Linked DNA regions of Homo sapiens: all the other regions are linked to region 3. The links are contacts of gene promoters, found by promoter capture Hi-C in human tissues and cell types (Jung and others, 2019). All regions are on one chromosome and are shown on one strand. Each heading gives the region's core, a stretch centred on a gene start or on the middle of the fragment in contact. The rest is flanking DNA. Distances are from core to core; before and after follow the strand shown. Region 1 overlaps SGTA (small glutamine rich tetratricopeptide repeat co-chaperone alpha). Region 2 overlaps THOP1 (thimet oligopeptidase 1). Region 3 holds the start of ZNF556 (zinc finger protein 556). Region 4 overlaps ZNF77 (zinc finger protein 77).

The links. The method cuts DNA at HindIII sites, captures the fragments that hold promoters and counts their contacts. A contact is called where the count stands out against the background at its distance.
Region 1: a fragment that was not itself captured here is called in contact with the fragment with the promoter of ZNF556 in region 3 in 11 of the 25 tissues and cell types used here (adrenal gland, bladder, dorsolateral prefrontal cortex and 8 more).
Region 2: a fragment that was not itself captured here is called in contact with the fragment with the promoter of ZNF556 in region 3 in 2 of the 25 tissues and cell types used here (dorsolateral prefrontal cortex and mesenchymal stem cells).
Region 4: a fragment that was not itself captured here is called in contact with the fragment with the promoter of ZNF556 in region 3 in 2 of the 25 tissues and cell types used here (adrenal gland and pancreas).

What each region holds. Positions count from the first base shown.
Region 1 is chr19:2,755,981-2,758,680 of GRCh38, reverse strand. SGTA (small glutamine rich tetratricopeptide repeat co-chaperone alpha) reads left to right here. Exons shown (of 12, transcript NM_003021.4): 10 at 899-988; 11 at 1,224-1,344. The coding sequence ends at 1,338. Among named protein-coding and RNA genes, the nearest start is that of SLC39A3, 17 kb to the right of the region's middle. The HindIII fragment of the contact is 7,304 bases long and covers 1-2,700 here.
Region 2 is chr19:2,793,747-2,796,446 of GRCh38, reverse strand. It overlaps THOP1 (thimet oligopeptidase 1), which reads right to left. Exons shown (of 13, transcript NM_003249.5): 3 at 1,535-1,683; 4 at 259-366. Among named protein-coding and RNA genes, the nearest start is that of THOP1, 9.6 kb to the right of the region's middle. RefSeq lists an enhancer at 1-423. The HindIII fragment of the contact is 3,628 bases long and covers 1-2,700 here.
Region 3 is chr19:2,865,926-2,868,625 of GRCh38, reverse strand. It overlaps ZNF556 (zinc finger protein 556), which reads right to left and starts at 1,291. Exons shown (of 4, transcript NM_024967.3): 1 at 1,202-1,291. The coding sequence starts at 1,204. The HindIII fragment of the contact is 10,595 bases long and covers 1-2,700 here.
Region 4 is chr19:2,938,727-2,941,426 of GRCh38, reverse strand. It overlaps ZNF77 (zinc finger protein 77), which reads left to right. Exons shown (of 4, transcript NM_021217.3): 2 at 2,020-2,146. Among named protein-coding and RNA genes, the nearest start is that of ZNF77, 4.9 kb to the left of the region's middle. The HindIII fragment of the contact is 4,202 bases long and covers 1-2,700 here.

The DNA.
Region 1 (2,700 bases), core at 6-2,505, 110 kb after region 3:
TGCAATCGTCTGTGTGAATCCTGTTTTCGTTTCTCTTGGATATAAACTTCTGAGTGCACTCGCTGGCTCATAGGGTCACTCCCCAGTAAGCGCTGTGCGCACTGGGGAGCTGCTCACCTGTTTTCATGGTGAAATCTTTTTTTCTTTCTCCTTTTTTTTTTTTTGAGACAGAATCTTGCTCTGTCACCCAGGCTGGAGTGCAGTGGCAGAATCTTGGCTCACTGCAACCTCTGCCTCCCGGGATCAAGTGGGTCTTCCCAAGTAGCTGGAATTACAGGCATCCACCACCATGCCCGGCTGATTTTTGCATTTTTAGTAGAGATGGGGTTTCACCATGTTGGCCAGGCTGGTCTTGAACTCCTGACCTCAGGTGATCCACCCGCCTCAGCCTCCCAAAGTGCAGGGATGACAGGTGTGAGCCACCGCGGCTGGCCCACGGTCAAATCTTAAAGCATGGTTTCCCAGCCACAGCACCGTGGCCATTTGAGCTGGACCAGTTTCTGGAGCAGGGCCGTCCTGGGCACTGCAGGGTGCTGAGCACTGTCTCTAGCCTCCATCCACTCCATGCCAGGAGCACCCCCTGCCCCTGTCTTGGCGTAACCCAATCATGGCTGTTGCAAATGTCCGCTGCCATTGCAGGGGTCCTCTGGGGGCAGGATCACCCCCTGGCTGAGAACTACGCTCTTTAGGCCAAAGAAAGAGGGGTGTTCTGGGAAAGCAGGTGAAAGTCACAGGGTGGGTTTGGGCCCTGGAGGCCCACCAGGTGGTGAGAGAGAATCCTCTCCTGCAGGGGAAGGTGAAGGGCTGAGAGGGATTCTCTCCCGGGCCACTGCGAGGGCCTGCAGTGGGGGTGGCGGTCAGGCTGTCCCGGCTGCGAGTCACGCGCTCTCTCCTGCAGCATGTCCGGCATGATTTCGGGTGGCAACAACCCCTTGGGAACTCCCGGCACCAGCCCCTCGCAGAACGACCTGGCCAGCCTCATCCAGGCGTGAGTGGAACTGCTTCCAAGAGGACGGAGGACGTGGGCGGCGGGCAGGGCTCGCAGGCGGAAGGGAAGGAGGAGAGCGAAAGTGCTGCGTCCCCTGCTCCGAAGGGCCCAGCGTCCTCCAGCGAGGGGTCAGGCCTGTCTTTGGGGTGGAGGGCCCGAGGGGTCAGCTGGGGATGGACGGAGGCAGCAGGCAGCCTCCTGGCCCTGGCTGAGCCCCATGTGCCCTTCCCCGCAGGGGCCAGCAGTTTGCCCAGCAGATGCAGCAGCAGAACCCAGAGTTGATAGAGCAGCTCAGGAGCCAGATCCGGAGTCGGACGCCCAGCGCCAGCAACGACGACCAGCAGGAGTGACGCTGCGTGAGTGCATGGGGCCGGGGGCTGGGGGGTGGCCAGCAGGAGTGACACCACGTGAGTGCCTGGCAGTGAGGGCAGCCAGCAGGAGTGACGCCCGGGGGCTGTGGAGCCTGTCTGGACACTGGACAGCGAGTCCTGGGTGCATCCAGCTCAGAAGATCACCCTGAACCGCCCAGGCAGGTGGGGGCATCTCTGGGCATTGGGCCCCTTTCCAGGTGGCCACCAAGTCCTGCTCCCCACTCCTTTCCCATCTGTGGATCGGCGCTGGGTGGAGATTAGGGGAGAGCCACAGCTCCCTGGAAGGGCTGGTGTCTGGGGTCCCCCCTGCCTAAGGCCGCCTGCAGAAGCTCTTTGTTTCTGCAGTGTCGGGGCTGCCACCTCGGGGGTGGGGGCGAGGTCATCGAGTGGTGGAAAGGACAAGCCGGGTACCTGCCTTTGACTGCGCCCGAGCGTTCTGCCTGCATTTTGTGAGGGATTTTTTGTCCTTTTCTCACTGTGAGCAGGTGTTGCACTTACAGTTGTTTAAAAATACACTCAGTGTCCCCCATGGGTTCCAGGGGCCCGTGGCTGGCTTGGTTTCCTTCCCCAGGGGCCCCTGAGTTCAGTCCTGTCCGTCTCCAGCAGACACCGGCTTCCCAGGGGTGGGAGGCTCCCCTGAGTTCAGTCCTGTCTGTCTCCAGCAGACGCCGGCTCCCTGGGGGCGGGAGGCTCCGGGCCTCCCCAGAGGTGTTTCCATTCTGCTCCCATGTGGCCTCTTCATTTTGTCGTTGTCCCCTCCTCATATACACTCTCTTTCATTTTTAAACCATAATTACTGTAGACAAATTTAAAATACAAAAATGTTAAAAAGCAGCAAGAACAATCTTAATCTTTTTTTTTTTTTTTTGAGACCGTCCTGCTCTGTCCCCCCGGCTGGAGGGCAGTGGTGCAGTCACGTCTCACTGCAGCCTCAACCTCCTGGGCTCAAGCGATCCTCCCGCCTCGGCCTCCCAAAGTGTGAGCCGTGCATTCAGCCCAACCTTAATCTTCTCACCCAGAGCCACCAACATTAATATTTTGGCCGCCTTTTCTTCCAGTCTTCCCTTTTTTTTTTAAATAAGCTTTTATTTATTTTTCCTTTTCTTTTTTTAATAGTTGAGGTGGATTTTTTACCACCGTAACCTCATACACAAAGTACCACCATACTGTAGACCCTTCTAGGTCATGGCGATGTTCTCTGCGCCACCAGCCACACGTGGCCCCGAGTGTGTGGAACGCTTCTGGTGCAGCTGTGGCTCTGACGTTCGTTGAAATAGCCGCTGTGGCCCCTGGCTGTCCACTCTGGGCCTCTCCTGCTGCCTGGAGTGTGTGGTGCAGCCT
Region 2 (2,700 bases), core at 182-2,681, 72 kb after region 3:
CCCAGCACTCCCGGCACCCAGCACTCCCTGTGCCCAAGCACTCCCTGAGTCCAGCACTCCCCGGGACGCAGCACTCCCTGAACCCAGCACTCCTGATGCCCCAAGCACTCCCTGAGCCGAGCACTCCCCGAGCCCAGCACTCCCCCTGCCCTGCGCTTCTTGCTCCCACCACTCCCTGGGACTGAGCACTCCCTGTGCCCAGCACTCCCCGGGATCGACCATTGCCCACGCCCAGCACTCCCTACACCCAGCACTCACTTCCTGAGTCTCTCTGGGGAGGTGAAGCCCATTTCTCCGGCCCAGCTTGATTAGCCGCTCCAGGTACCGCGCAGCCTCGGGCCTCAGTGAGTCCTTCTGAACTTTCTCCTGGAATAAAAACATCAAAGCATGTAGGACGTGGGCCAGTGCAGCCGCTCCAAAGAGCAGTTTGGCAGTTTCTTAAAAACCTGATCATCCGGCCCCCGTGTGACTTGGCAACTGCACTCCTGGGCATTTATCTCAGAGAAATGACGACCTGTCTCTACATAAAACCTGTGCAAACGTTCGCTTTGTTTGGAAGAGCCCCACACTGACATCAGTCCAGAGCTCCTTCACCAGTGCGATGGCTGAATGGGAATTAGATTGCTGGTGGTCTCCAGGTCGGTATCGGGGTGTAGATGACACCATAGTTTTGCAAAACGTCATCACTGGGGACCTGGGCAAAGTTGGCAAAGGCATTCGATTCTTTCCTGCACCTGCATGGGAACCTCTCATTGTCTCAACAGAAACTCTGGAAAGTGGAGGTGGGAGGATTGCGTGGGCCCAGGAGTTCGAGACAAGCGTGGGCAACGTTGTGAGACCCTGTCTGTATTTAAATAAAAAGAAATAACAATCCACGGCTATCATGGGTCACCCTGATCTGGATTTACCAAAGCACTAGGGCTGCATGATCCTGAGACTGTGGGACACATCAGCACATTCCCAGGGGTCCTCGCCTAAGAGGATGAACAGCAGCAGGAGGGTCTCTGGGTCTCTCCTGATCATGTGACATCAACAGCAAAGGCCCCACTGCATACTGCGAGGAGCATCCGGGGGAGCAGGAGCCCACGCAGCCATGCCGCCAGGCCCTGCCAGCTCACGCCATGTGGGGATGGGGTGTTTGGGTCACACTAGGATGGCCAGGAAAGGAAATGAAAGTGCACATGTGTGGCCGGGCGTGGTGGCTCAGGCCTGTGATCCCAGCACTTTGGGAGGCCAAGGCGGGCGGATCACCTGAGGTCAGGAGTTTGAGAACAGCCTGACCAACATGGCAAAACCCTGTGCCTACTAAAAATACAAAAAATGGGCCGGGCACAGTGGCTCACACCTGTCATCCCAGCACTGTGGGAGGCCGAGGTGGGCGGATCACTTGAGGTCAGGAGTTCGAGACTAGCCTGACCAACACGTTGAAACCCCGTCTCTACTAAAAATACAAAAATTAGCCGGGTGTGGTGGCGGGCGCCTGTAATCCTAGTTACTTGGGAGGCTATTTGCACTCCCCGCAGGGCCCCCTCACCTGGAGCCACACGATCCTCTGGTACACGTCCTCCCTCATGCTCATCTCCACGTCGAACTCAGAGAGCTTCTTGTCGGCCTCTGTGCTGGCTGTCCGGATGTCCTTGGAGGGGGAAACATGCTGGGGGAAGTCAAGGATATTCCTCTGAACTAAAACAGGGGAGACCAGGGAGACAGGTGTGAGAACAGGCCCCAGTACAACTGGCAGGTGTTGCCCGGACCCCTCTCCCAGGCCTGTCTGCTGAATCCCCCCGTGAACTCTCTCCTGCCTCAGCCTCCCAAGTAGCTGGGACTAGAGGCACACGCCACCGTCCCCTCCAGGCTGGGCCCTGGGATGGAGAAAGGAGGTGCTGTTGCCTGTGTCCTTGGAGATCTTACAGACCGAAGAAAAATAAGGATTCAACTCAAAGCCCTCCAAGCCAAGGAGGACCCAACAGAGCTGGGTACGACGAAACAGAGGCTGACGGAATTCCATTCCAGAGAGAGCTGCAGCTGCCGATGGTCACATTTAAATGCATAAACTACTTACAATTTCCTGAGCACATCTGTGCTTTAGGTTGAGTAGAGGAAGTGTCAGTGGCTAGAAAAGCATAAGCTTTAGGCCAGGTGTGGTGGCCAAGCCTGTAATCCCAGCCCTTTGGGAGGCCGAGGCAGGCAGATCACTTGAGGTCAGGAGTCCGAGACCAGCCTGGCCAACAAGGTGAAACCCCATCTCTACTAAAAATACAAAAATTAGCCAGGCGTGGTGGCGCGTGCCTGTAATTCCAACTACTTGGGAGGCTGAGGTAGGGGAATAGCTTGAACCCGGGAGGTGGAGGTTGCAGCGAGTTGAAATGGTACCACTGCACTCCAGCCTGGGCGACAGAGTGAGGCTCCATCTCAAAAAAGAAAAAAAAAGAAAAAAAAAAAAGCTTTAAAATGGAGTCATCCCATGACCCCCAAGACTCCAGTGCCAGGATCCAGCCAGGAGACATGAACACACATCCACACAGGAATCTGCACACGTGCACTCACAGCAGCGCGATTCACAATTGACAAAAGGTCCATCCACGAGTGAATGGACTGACAAGATGTGGCCTCTGCCCAGTGGAACACGACTCAGCCATGAAAAGGAATGAGGCTCTGGAACAGGCTGCGGTGTGGATGCAGCCCGATGATGTCACATGC
Region 3 (2,700 bases), core at 42-2,541:
GGCCAACATGGTAAAACCCTGTCTCCACTAAAAATACAAAAATTAGCTGGACGTGGTGGCACACACCTGTAGTCCCAGCTGCTGGGGAGGCTGAGGCAGGAGAATCAATCGCTTGAACTCAGGAGGCGGAGGTTGCAGTGAGCCGAGATCGCGCCACTGCACTCCAGCCTGGGTGACAGAGCAAGACTCCGTTTCAAAAAATAAAAACAAAAAATAAAAGAACAGAATTATCATCTATCACAAATTCTCCATCCTGGAAAAGGAGAATAACTGATATTTTAGCGAGTTTTTGTAATTCACCAAATTATATACCAAACATTTTTTTCTTGTAGGAATGTATTCATTTCGGGGCGTGTCATAATAAAAGAGAGATTTTCTCTCTTTCTCTGCGATTCTTTTTCCCGGGAGCCCCGTCAAGGGCTAAGCCCTGGAATCCCATTTGTCATCACCGAAAATAAAACAACAGATGTGAGAAACTTAACCACACGGGCAAAAAAGGAACAGAAAATAAAAAGAAAAAAAAAAGGCACGCTAGAATTTTTAACAAATGGAATGTAAGACGAGAACTTTATTTTTTTCTGAAATTCACCTCCTTGGAAATATTTTATCTTTCAAACTCTATTATTTACTGTATGTTCCATTGACTGAAAAAATCTGAGGCTCAAGTAACCAAATCAATCTTTAGAAGGAGAGAGGCCCAGGCAGGGGCGGCTGGGCTGGAGTCCGGCCTGCGGGCCTTTGGGGTCAGGCCAGCCCGTGCCGCCACGTGGAGCGCCCGCACCACCTGTCCACCCCTCGCCCCTCCCAGGGACGTGGGCCTGGGCCCAAAGTCTGCATCCAAAGCGCATTCTGCTTTGGGGCTGTTGCACCGCCTCGCTGGGGTGAGGTTTTTTTTTTTTTTGTTTTGTTTTTTGTACTTTGGGTTAGTTTTTCTTCCAATTAACTTCGCGAGACCCCACAGGGCAGGAGTCATTTCTGCCTTTTTTTCCCCTCCATCCCAGCGTCCTGACAACTACGACTTTCCAGGGAATGAAGACTGGGGCAGGGGAGGAAACTCCCCGCAGGACCCGGGGGTGACACAGGGACAGAGGCTGCATGGGGGTTCCGGGCGGCTCCCCCGGGAGTTTCAGCGTGTTCTGGCCGCTTCCAACCCTCCCCTCCCAGGGCTCCGGCTCCGGCTCGGCTCCTGCCCTGCACTCACCATGTCCTGTCCGTTCCTGAGCTCTTTGAGGAGCTCCCTGCTCCTCGCAGCCGGTGCAGGTGAGCACGACGGGGACACCTGTGGTCACTCAGGGCAGGCCGGGTGTGCTCTGCAGGGAGGACAGCAACGCCCCGCCCCTGGGGCTGTGATTGGATGGTTCTCTTCTCTGCTCATCTCTGATTGGAGAGTTCACCAGTCACATCCCAACTCCCCTGATTGGACAGTTCTTTAGACTCTGCCCCTCCTCTTCTGGTTGGTCAGCTTGCTATCCCCTGAGCTCCCCTGATTGGGCAGTTCTTCAGGCCCCACCCCAGCTTTCCTAATTGGTCATGTTTCCACGCCCTGCCTCAGCTCCTTTGATTTGACAGGTCTCCAGGCTCTGCCCCAACCCCCCTGATTGACAGTTCTCATCCGGATGCTCCACCTCAACTCCCCTGATTGGTCAGTTCTCTAGGCCCCACCCCAGCTGCCTGATTGGTCAGTTTTCAGGTCTCGGGTCCTGCAGGCAGCAGCCCCCATCCACGGTGGTCTCCTTCCTGAAATGAAAGTGGTACTGACTTAGAGGGAAACCTGGGCCCTTGGGGTATCCACCGTAGAAAAAAGCAGCTTCTTCTGTCCTCAGTCTGTTGTCAGATTCCATGACACTGGAGGAGGTCCCCTCTCTCTCCTGACCAGTAGACACCTGGGGAGGCCCATGGGGTCAAGTGAGTGACCAACGAAAGCTTTACCATTCCCTAACTAGGGTCAGCACAATTGCTAGAACTGAACTCTTGAGCCATTAGCAATGGTCTAGCCAGCCGGGCGCGGTGGCTCATGCCTGTAATCACAGCACTTTGGGAGGCCAAGGTGGGTGGATCACCTGAGGTCAGGAGTTTGAGACCAGTGTGGCCAACATGATGAAACCCTGTCTTTACTAAAAATACAAAAAATTAGCCGGGTGTGGTGGTGGGTGCCTGTAATCCCAGCTACTCGGAGGCTAAGGGGGAAGAATCGCTTGAACCTGGAAGGCGGAGGTTGCAGTGAGCTGAGATTGCCCCACTGCACTCAGCCTAGGCAACAAGAGGGAAACTCCGTCTCAAAAACAACAACAACAACAAAAACATAGAAAACAAAACAAAACAAAAAAACCGAAAACACACTTAAAAAAAACTGTGGCAACAACTGTATCCTAGGTCAATATTTTGAGGTTAAAGCACTCTGGGGATATTTTGCCTCACAGTTTCTCAAGTAAAAATCAAGGTCACGAATATCTGTGTACCTATGAAAACTCAAACACCACAGCTGAGCGCTCAATGTGCAGGCAGATGAATAGTCTACAGGCAAATGACATATAATCAAGGAGGCATAATCCCTGGAAGCCTGTTGGTAGGGCTGAGAGCAAATAGATTTTATAGGGTCCCCGCCCACCTTTGCAGAGGCTATTCCGTATACTGTGATCACGGAAGCCACTTAAATGCAAATATTCCTTACCAATCCCACCAGACGTTCTCCTGCTGAGC
Region 4 (2,700 bases), core at 107-2,606, 73 kb before region 3:
CAGCTCACTGCAACCTCTGCCTCTGGGTTTAAGTGATTTTCCTGCCTCAGCCTCCCAAGTAGCTGGGATTACAGGCATGCACCACCACACCTGGCTAATTTTTGTATTTTTAGTAGCGGTGCGGTTTCACCATGTTGGCCAGGCTGCTCATGAACTCCTGACCTCAAGTGATCCTCCCGCCTTGGCCTCCCAAAGTGCTGAGATTACAGGTGTGAGCCACCTCACCCAGCCTTTTTTTTTTTTTTTTTTTTTGAGGTAGGGCGTCTCTCTGTCACCCACGCTGGAGTGCAGTGGTGACATCGTGGCTCACTACAGCCTCAACCTCCTGGGCTCAAATGATCCTCCCACCTCAGCCTCCTGAGTAGCTGGGACTCCAGGTGTGCCCCACCATGCCTGGCTAATTTTTGTATTTTTTGTAGAGACAGGGTTTCACCATATTGCTCAGGCTGGTCCCAAGCTTCTGGGCTCAAACAGTCCTCCCACCTCAGTCTCCCAAAGTGCTGGGAGTATAGGCCTGAGCCACCAAGCCCAGCTGCTGATAGCATTTTATTATAAAATTGAACACATGTAGAACTTTTGTAAGACAATTACAGAGTCAGTGGAAACGTCCTCAAGTGAACAGTGTGTAACGACAGCCAGGCCATGTCTTCGAAGAAGCCTTGGCATCCAATTTGAAATGATGTGTAATGGTAGGCTTCTCCCTCCAGATCAGGCCAGTATTCTACATTCTTTTTTTTTTTTTTTTTTTCTTTTTTGTGATGGAGACTCACTCTGTTGCTAGACTGGAGTGCAATGGCGCCATCTCGGCTCACTGCAACCTCTGCCTCCTGGGTTCAAGTGATTCTCCTGCCTCAGCCTCCTGAGTAGCTGAGACTACAGGCGTGTGCCACCACGCCCAGCTAATTTTTGTATTTTTAGTAGAGATGGGGTTTCACCATGTTGGCCAGGATGGTCTTGATCTCTTAACCTTGTGATCCGCCCACCTTAGCCTCCCAAAATGCTAGGATTATAGGCGTGAGCCACCACGCCCGGCCTATCCTAAATTCTTTTAGCCTTTTTTTTTTTGGTAGAGACAGGGTTTCACTGTGTTGTCCAGGGTGATCTCGAACTCCTGAACTCAAGTGATCTGCCTGTCTTGGCCTCCCAAAGTGTTGGAACTACAGGCGTGAACCACCACACCTGGCCAATATCCTAAATTATAAGGAAATAATCTCCTTGCTTTTCTTCATAGTTGTATTTTTAAAATTTAATTTAATTTAATTTTTTTTTTTAAGAGACAGGGTCTTTGCTCTGTCACCCAGGCTCGTCTTGAACTCCTGGCCTCAAGCGATCTTCTCACCTTGGCCTCCCAAAGTGCTGATATTATAGCTGAATAAGAAATAATAAAATTTGAGCAAGTCATGTCAATTTCCATGTTACCTGAATGATTGATTTATTTTATTTTTTTGAGATTGGGTCTCACTCTGTGGCCCAGACAGGAGTGCAGTGGCACAGTCATAGTTCACTGCAGCCTTGAACCCCCGAGCTCAAGCGATTGTCCCTCCTCACCCTCCTAAGTAGCCGGGACTACAGGTGTGTACCACCATGGCTGGTTAATTTATTGTATTTTATTTTTTTTGTAGAGACGGGATCTCACTATGCAGCCCAGGCTGGTCGCCAACTCCTGGCCCTAAGCAATCCTCGCACCTGAGCCTCTCAAAGTACTGGGATTGCAGGCATGAGCCACCAGCCTTAGCTTAATGATGTTTTCAGATTTTTCAGTGTTTCCCCACCCTCATACCTGCCGTTTCTCAGTAATTCTTTGTAAGTCTCTGGCAGAGGCCGTCATTGCGCTTTGCTCCCTGTTGGGAAGGTACTCACGGCATTGAGTGTACTGCACTTTTTCATACTGTTGGTCACCTCTCACAAGGACATAAGCTCTGTGTGGCTCAGTTCCCCAGGCTGTCAGCCTCACCCCTCTTCCTGCGCACATGGGGGAGGCGGTGCCTTTGCTGAAGTGGGATGTGTGGAATGTTTTAGGACTGCGTGATCTTTGAGGAAGTGGCTGTGAACTTCACCCCAGAAGAGTGGGCATTGCTGGATCATGCTCAGAGGAGCCTCTACAGAGATGTGATGCTGGAGACCTGCAGGAACCTTGCCTCCTTGGGTAAGGGTGGTGTCATTCCCTCACTGCCTCCTTGGGTAAGGGTGGCGTCATTCCCTCACTGCCTCCTTGGGTAAGGGTGGCGTCATTCCCTCACTGCCTCCTTGGGTAAGGGTGGCGTCATTCCCTCACTGCCTCCTTGGGTAAGGGTGGCGTCATTCCCTCACTGCCTCCTTGGGTAAGGGTGGCGTCATTCCCTCACTGCCTCCTTGGGTAAGGATGGCGTCATTCCCTCACTGCCTCCTTGGGTAAGGGTGGCATCATTCCCTCACTGCGTCCTGGAGAGCAAAGAGACCTTGGTTTTCTTTTTTTTTTTTTTTATTTTTTTGAGACGGAGTCTTGCTCTCTCGCCCAAGCTGGAGTGCAGTGGCACGATCTCGGCTCACTGCAAGCTCCGCCTCCCGGGTTCATGCCATTCTCCTGCCTCAGCCTCCTGAATAGCTGGGACTACAGGTGCCCACCACCACGCCTGGCTAATTTTTTGTAGCTTTAGTAGAGATGGGGTTTCACCGTGTTAGCCAGGATGGTCTCGATCTCCTGACCTCGTGATCCGCCCG